Linked DNA regions of Homo sapiens: region 1 is linked to region 2. The links are contacts of gene promoters, found by promoter capture Hi-C in human tissues and cell types (Jung and others, 2019). All regions are on one chromosome and are shown on one strand. The core of a region is centred on a gene start or on the middle of the fragment in contact, and the rest is flanking DNA. Distances in the headings are between cores, read along the strand shown.

Evidence for each region. Contacts are between HindIII fragments. The study calls those that stand out against the background at their distance.
Region 1: a contact is called between a fragment that was not itself captured here and the fragment with the promoter of RBM15B in region 2, in 1 of the 25 tissues and cell types used here (H1 embryonic stem cells).

What each region holds. Positions count from the first base shown.
Region 1 is chr3:50,918,960-50,921,857 of GRCh38, forward strand. The region is part of intron 4 of DOCK3 (dedicator of cytokinesis 3); the gene reads left to right. Among named protein-coding and RNA genes, the nearest start is that of MIR4787, 250 kb to the left of the region's middle. The HindIII fragment of the contact is 3,259 bases long and covers 1-2,898 here.
Region 2 is chr3:51,389,960-51,393,081 of GRCh38, forward strand. It overlaps RBM15B (RNA binding motif protein 15B), which reads left to right and starts at 1,326. Exons shown (of 1, transcript NM_013286.5): 1 at 1,326-3,122. The coding sequence starts at 1,441. RefSeq lists enhancers at 800-849, 2,835-3,122 and silencers at 1,170-1,649, 1,690-1,769, 1,880-1,939. The HindIII fragment of the contact is 5,063 bases long and covers 1-3,122 here.

The DNA.
Region 1 (2,898 bases), core at 227-2,726, 470 kb before region 2:
GTTTCAGCTTTCTATGTATAGCTAGCCAGTTTTCCTAGCACCATTTATTAAATAGGGAATCCTTTCCCCATTTCTTGTTTTTGTCAGGTTTGTCAAGGATCAGATGGTTGTAGATGTGTGGTATTATTTCTGAGGGCTCTGTTCTGTTCCATTGGTCTATATCTCTGTTTGGTACCAGTACCATGCTGTTTTGGTTACTGCAGCCTTGTAGTATAGTTTGAAGTCAGGTAGTGTGATGCTTCCAGCTTTGTTCTTTTGGCTTAGGATTGTCTGGGCAATGCGGACTCTTTTTTGGTTCTATATGAACTTTAGTTTTTTCCAGTTCTGTGAAGAAAGTTATTGGTAGCTTGATGGGGATAGCATTGAATCTATAAATAACCTTGGGCACTATGGCCATTTTTACGATATGATTCTTCCTATCCATGAGCATGGAATGTTCTTCCATTTGTTTGTGTCCTCTTTTATTTCGTTGAGCAGTGGTTTGTAGTTCTCTTTGAAGAGGTCCTTCACATCCCTTGTAAGTTATATTCCTAGGTATTTTATTCTCTTTCAAGCAGTTGTGAATGGGAGTTCACTCATGATTTGGCTCTCTGTCTGTTACTGGTGTAGAGGAATGCTTGTGATTTTTGTACATTGATTTTGTATCCTGAGACTTTGCTGAAGTTGCTTATCATCTTAAGGGGATTTTGGGCTGAGATGATAGGGTTTTCTAACTATACAATCATGTCATCTGCAGACAGGGACAATTTGACTTCCTCTTTTCCTAATTAAATACCCTTTATTTCTTTCTCCTGCCTGATTGCCCTGACCAGAACTTCCAACACTATGTCGAATAGGAGTGGTGAGACAGGACATCCCTGTCTTGTGCCAGTTTTCAAAGGGAATGCTTCAGTTTTTGCCCATTCAGTAAGATATTGGCTGTGGGTTTGTCATAAATAGCTCTTATTATTTTGAGATACATCCAATCAATACCTAGTTTATTGAGAGTTTTTAGCATGAAGCGCTGTTGAATTTTGTCAAAGGCCTTTTCTGCATCTATTGAGATAGTCATGTGGTTTTTGTCTTTGGTTCTGTTTATATGATGGATTATGTTTATTGATTTGCATATGTTGAACCAGCCTTGCATCCCAGGGATGAACAACTTGATCATTGTGGATAAGCTTTTTGATGTGCTGCTGGATTCGGTTTGCCAGTATTTTATTGAGGATTTTTGCATCGATTTTCATCAGGGATATTGGTGTAAAATTTTCTTTTTTTGTTGTGCCTCTGCTAGGCTTTGGTATCAGGATGATGCTGGCCTCATAAAATGAATTAGAGAGGATTCCATCTTTTTCTGTTGAGTGGAATAGTTTCAGAAGGAATGGTACCAGCTCCTCTTTGTACCCCTGGTCGAATTTTGCTGTGAATCCGTCTGGTCCTGGACTTTTTTTGGTTGGTAGTCTATTAATTATTGCCTCAATTTCAGAGCCTATTATTGGTCTATTCAGGGATTCACCTTCTTCCTGGTTTAGTCTTGGGAGGGTGTATGTGTCTAGGAATTTATCCATTTCTTCTAGATTTTCTAGTTTATTTGTGTAGAGGTGTTTATAGTATTCTCTGATGGTAGTTTGTATTTCTGTGGGATTGGTGGTGTTATCCCCTTTATCATTTTTTATTGCATCTATTTGATTCTTCTCTCTTTTCTTCTTTATTAGTCTTGCTAACGGTCTGTCAATTTTGTTGATCTTTTCAGAAAACCAGCTCCTGTATTTATTGATTTTTTGAAGGGTTTTTTGTGTGTCTATCTCCTTCAGTTCTGCTCTGATCTTAGTTATTTCTTGCCTTCTGCTAGCTTTTGAATGCGTTTGCTCTTGCTTCTCTAGTTCTTTTAATTGTGATGTTAGGGTGTCAATTTTAGATCTTTCCTGCTTTCTCTTGTGGGCATTTAGTGCTATAAATTTCCCTCTACACACTGCTTTGAATGTGTCCCAGAGATTCTGGTATGTTATGTCTTTGTTCTCATTGGTTTCAAAGAACATCTTTATTTCTGCCTTTATTTTGTTATGTACCCAGTAGTCATTCAGGAGCAGGTTGTTCAGTTTTCATGTAGTTGAGCAGTTTAGAGTGAGTTTCTTAATCTTGAGTTCTAGTTTGATTGCACTGTGGTCTGAGAGACAGTTTGTTACAATTTCTGTTCTTTTACGTTTGCCTGAGGAGTGCTTTACTTCCAGTTATGTGGTCAGTTTTGGAATAAGTGTGATAAGTGATCTTTTCACACAGTCCCATATTTATTGGAGGCTTTGTTCATTTCTTTTTACTCTTTTTTCTCTAACTTCTCTTCTGCTTCATTTCATTCAGTTGATCTTCAGTCACTGATACCCTTTCTTCCACTTGATCAAATTGGCTGCTGAAGCTTGTGCATGTGTCACGTAGTTCTTGTGGCGTGGTTTTCAGCTCCATCAGGTTATTTAAGGTCTTCTCTATGCTGTTTATTCTAGTTAGCCATTCGTCTAATCTTTTTTCAAGGTTTTTAGCTTCTTTGCGATGCGTTTGAACATCCTCCTTTAGCTCGAAGAAGTTTGTTATTACTGATCGTCTCAAACCTTCTTCTCTCAACTCGTCAAAGTCATTCTCCATCCAGCTTTGTTCCGTTGCTAGCGAGGAGCTGCATTCCTTTGGTGGAGAAGAGGTGCTCTGATTTTTAGAATTTTCAGCTTTTCTGCTCTGGTTTCTTCCCATCTTGGTGGTTTTATCTGCCTTGGTCTTTGATGATGGTGACATACAGCTGGAGTTTTGGTGTGGATGTCCTTTCTGTTTGTTAGTTTTCCTTCCAGCAGTCAGGACCCTCAGCTGCAGGTCTGTTGGAGTTTGCTGGAGGTCCACTCCAGACCCTGTTTGCCTGGGTATCACCAGCGGAGG
Region 2 (3,122 bases), core at 76-2,575:
GAGTCTGCTTCTTAAGCCACTCTCTGTGGCACTGGTGCTTAGGAAACCCAGTTGTTAGTGTGAGCTGTGGCTCAATGAAGACACCTGTAGAAACCACCTGAAAGGACGGACTAAGAACCAGTGCTTTCCAAGTAATTGGTCTTGCCTCAGATCACTTCACTTGTGTCTCCTAAGCTCAGTTTGCCTGTAGGAGGCCTTGCTGCTGTGGAACCCATTGCTTTCTTCCAAGACCTTTCCCCCTGCACCTGCCTGAGCTACTCCAGGAGCTGCTTTCTCTTTGTGCGAAGAGGGCATGACTTGGTCTGCTCTTCCCCATCGCAAGGATTCTGTGCCAGAAATTGGGTCAGGTTCTACCATGGCTCCAGCAACTGTCCTTGGAGAATGAAAGCTTCCTCAATGGGCTTGAGCACCTGGGCACCCTTTCCCTCACCTCACCTGGGGAGAAGAGGTCGTCCTGAAGGTGATGAACAGGAGGGTACTGGCCAGCGAGGGGTCAGCGTGGCAAGGTGTGATAACTGCTGGCACTATCTGTGCATATGGCCTCTTCATCCTTGGCTCTTACGGCCCTACCTTTCCAGCCTGCTATCTGCCCACAGAAGAGGGTGGGACCCAAGAGTGGCGTTAAAGAGTCTATTCCAACTCCATCAACTGCAACTGCAGGCTTGTCTCTGCTTTCGGTTATTACCTGCGTGACAGCAATTGTCCTCACGGCCTTTTCGGGGACTGCTGCAGGTGAACCTGCACGTGGAGAATGCGCAGAATGTGGGCCTTGGGTCCTGGGCAGGGTCTAAGGATAGGCATGCATTAGTCCTTGGCGCCGTCAACGCCGGATCCCAGGCAGGAGATGCCAACGAGGGTGATGTGGGGTTTGCTCAAGCCTAGTCCTAGGACTGAGGGGATACTACATAAAGAGACCACTGACTGGGTCAATGCCCCAGATCCCAACGGCCATGGAAGCTGCCACTCCTGCTCCAATCAGCGCGGGCTCCAGTGCCTGCAAGAGGAGATAGCTGGACCCAGAGCGGCAAAGCACGGCTGGGAGCACAAAGCGTTAGGTCGTCTCGCCGGCCTCTCAGGGTTCACTACACTCCGCGTAGCCTCAAGCATCGGCCATGCGGGCCGCGCGGTGGCGCCAGAGCGCGCGGCCGGTCCCACTCACCCAGCACTCACAGGGTCACCTGGCACTGGGCGACGCAGCGCGATGAGGCAGGCCCGGCGCGGGTCTTGCTCCGCCCGCCGCAGAGTCACGTGGCAGGACGGCGCACCTTGATAACGCAATGCCCGGCCCCTCGGCGCCGCTCCCGCCCCGCCCCGCCGCCACCGCCGCGCCGAGTCCTTTTGTCCAAGATGGCGGCGCCGGGGGCGCTGCCTCCTCGGCCGCCGCCTCCGCCGCCGCCGCTGTGAGAAACCTACGGGCCGCCCGCCCGCCGCGCCAGCGCCATGAAGCGGCAGAGCGAGCGAGACTCTAGCCCGAGCGGGCGCGGCTCGTCATCGTCCGCCAAGCGTCCGCGGGAGCGCGAACGGGAGGCGGAGGCGGGCGGGCGGCGGGCGGCGCACAAGGCCTCTGGCGGCGCCAAGCACCCGGTTCCAGCGCGGGCCCGCGACAAACCCCGCGGCAGCGGAAGCGGCGGGGGCGGGCATCGCGACGGCCGCGGCACCGGGGACGCGAATCACCGCGCGAGTAGCGGGCGCTCCTCGGGCTCCGGCGCTGGCGGCGGGGGACGCGGCGGCAAGGCCTCGGGGGACCCGGGCGCCTCCGGCATGTCGCCCCGCGCGTCTCCTCTGCCGCCGCCTCCGCCACCGCCTGGGGCCGAGCCCGCGTGTCCCGGCTCATCCGCGGCCGCGCCTGAGTACAAGACGTTGCTCATCAGCAGCTTGAGCCCCGCGCTGCCCGCCGAGCACCTCGAGGACCGGCTCTTCCACCAGTTCAAGCGCTTCGGCGAGATCAGCCTCCGCCTGTCGCACACGCCTGAGCTGGGCCGTGTGGCCTACGTGAATTTCCGGCACCCACAGGACGCACGCGAGGCCCGCCAGCACGCCCTGGCCCGGCAGCTGCTGCTCTACGACCGCCCGCTCAAGGTAGAGCCCGTGTACCTGCGTGGCGGCGGCGGGAGCAGTCGGCGAAGTAGCAGCAGCAGCGCCGCCGCTTCCACGCCTCCCCCAGGGCCGCCCGCGCCCGCCGACCCGCTCGGCTACCTCCCGCTACACGGAGGCTACCAGTACAAGCAGCGCTCGCTGTCCCCCGTCGCTGCCCCGCCCCTGCGGGAGCCCCGTGCCCGTCACGCCGCCGCAGCCTTCGCCCTGGATGCCGCTGCTGCCGCCGCCGTGGGACTGTCCCGGGAGCGGGCCCTGGACTACTACGGGCTGTACGACGACCGTGGGCGCCCCTATGGCTACCCAGCTGTGTGTGAGGAGGACCTGATGCCCGAGGATGACCAGCGGGCCACGCGCAACCTCTTCATTGGTAACCTGGACCACAGCGTATCTGAGGTGGAGCTGCGAAGGGCCTTCGAGAAATATGGCATCATCGAGGAGGTGGTCATCAAGAGGCCTGCCCGTGGCCAGGGCGGTGCCTATGCCTTCCTCAAGTTCCAGAACCTGGACATGGCCCATAGGGCTAAGGTGGCCATGTCGGGCCGAGTGATTGGTCGCAACCCCATTAAGATAGGCTATGGCAAGGCCAACCCCACCACTCGTCTCTGGGTGGGTGGCCTGGGACCTAACACGTCACTGGCGGCTCTGGCCCGAGAGTTTGACCGCTTTGGGAGCATTCGGACCATTGATCACGTCAAAGGAGATAGCTTTGCCTATATTCAGTACGAGAGCTTGGACGCAGCCCAGGCCGCCTGTGCTAAAATGAGGGGTTTTCCCTTGGGTGGACCAGACCGCAGGCTCCGCGTGGATTTTGCCAAAGCAGAGGAGACTCGGTACCCCCAGCAGTACCAGCCCTCGCCACTCCCTGTGCATTATGAGCTGCTCACAGATGGATACACCCGGCACCGCAACCTGGACGCCGACCTGGTGCGGGACAGGACGCCCCCACACCTTCTGTACTCAGACCGAGACCGGACTTTTTTGGAAGGGGACTGGACCAGCCCCAGTAAAAGCTCTGACCGCCGAAA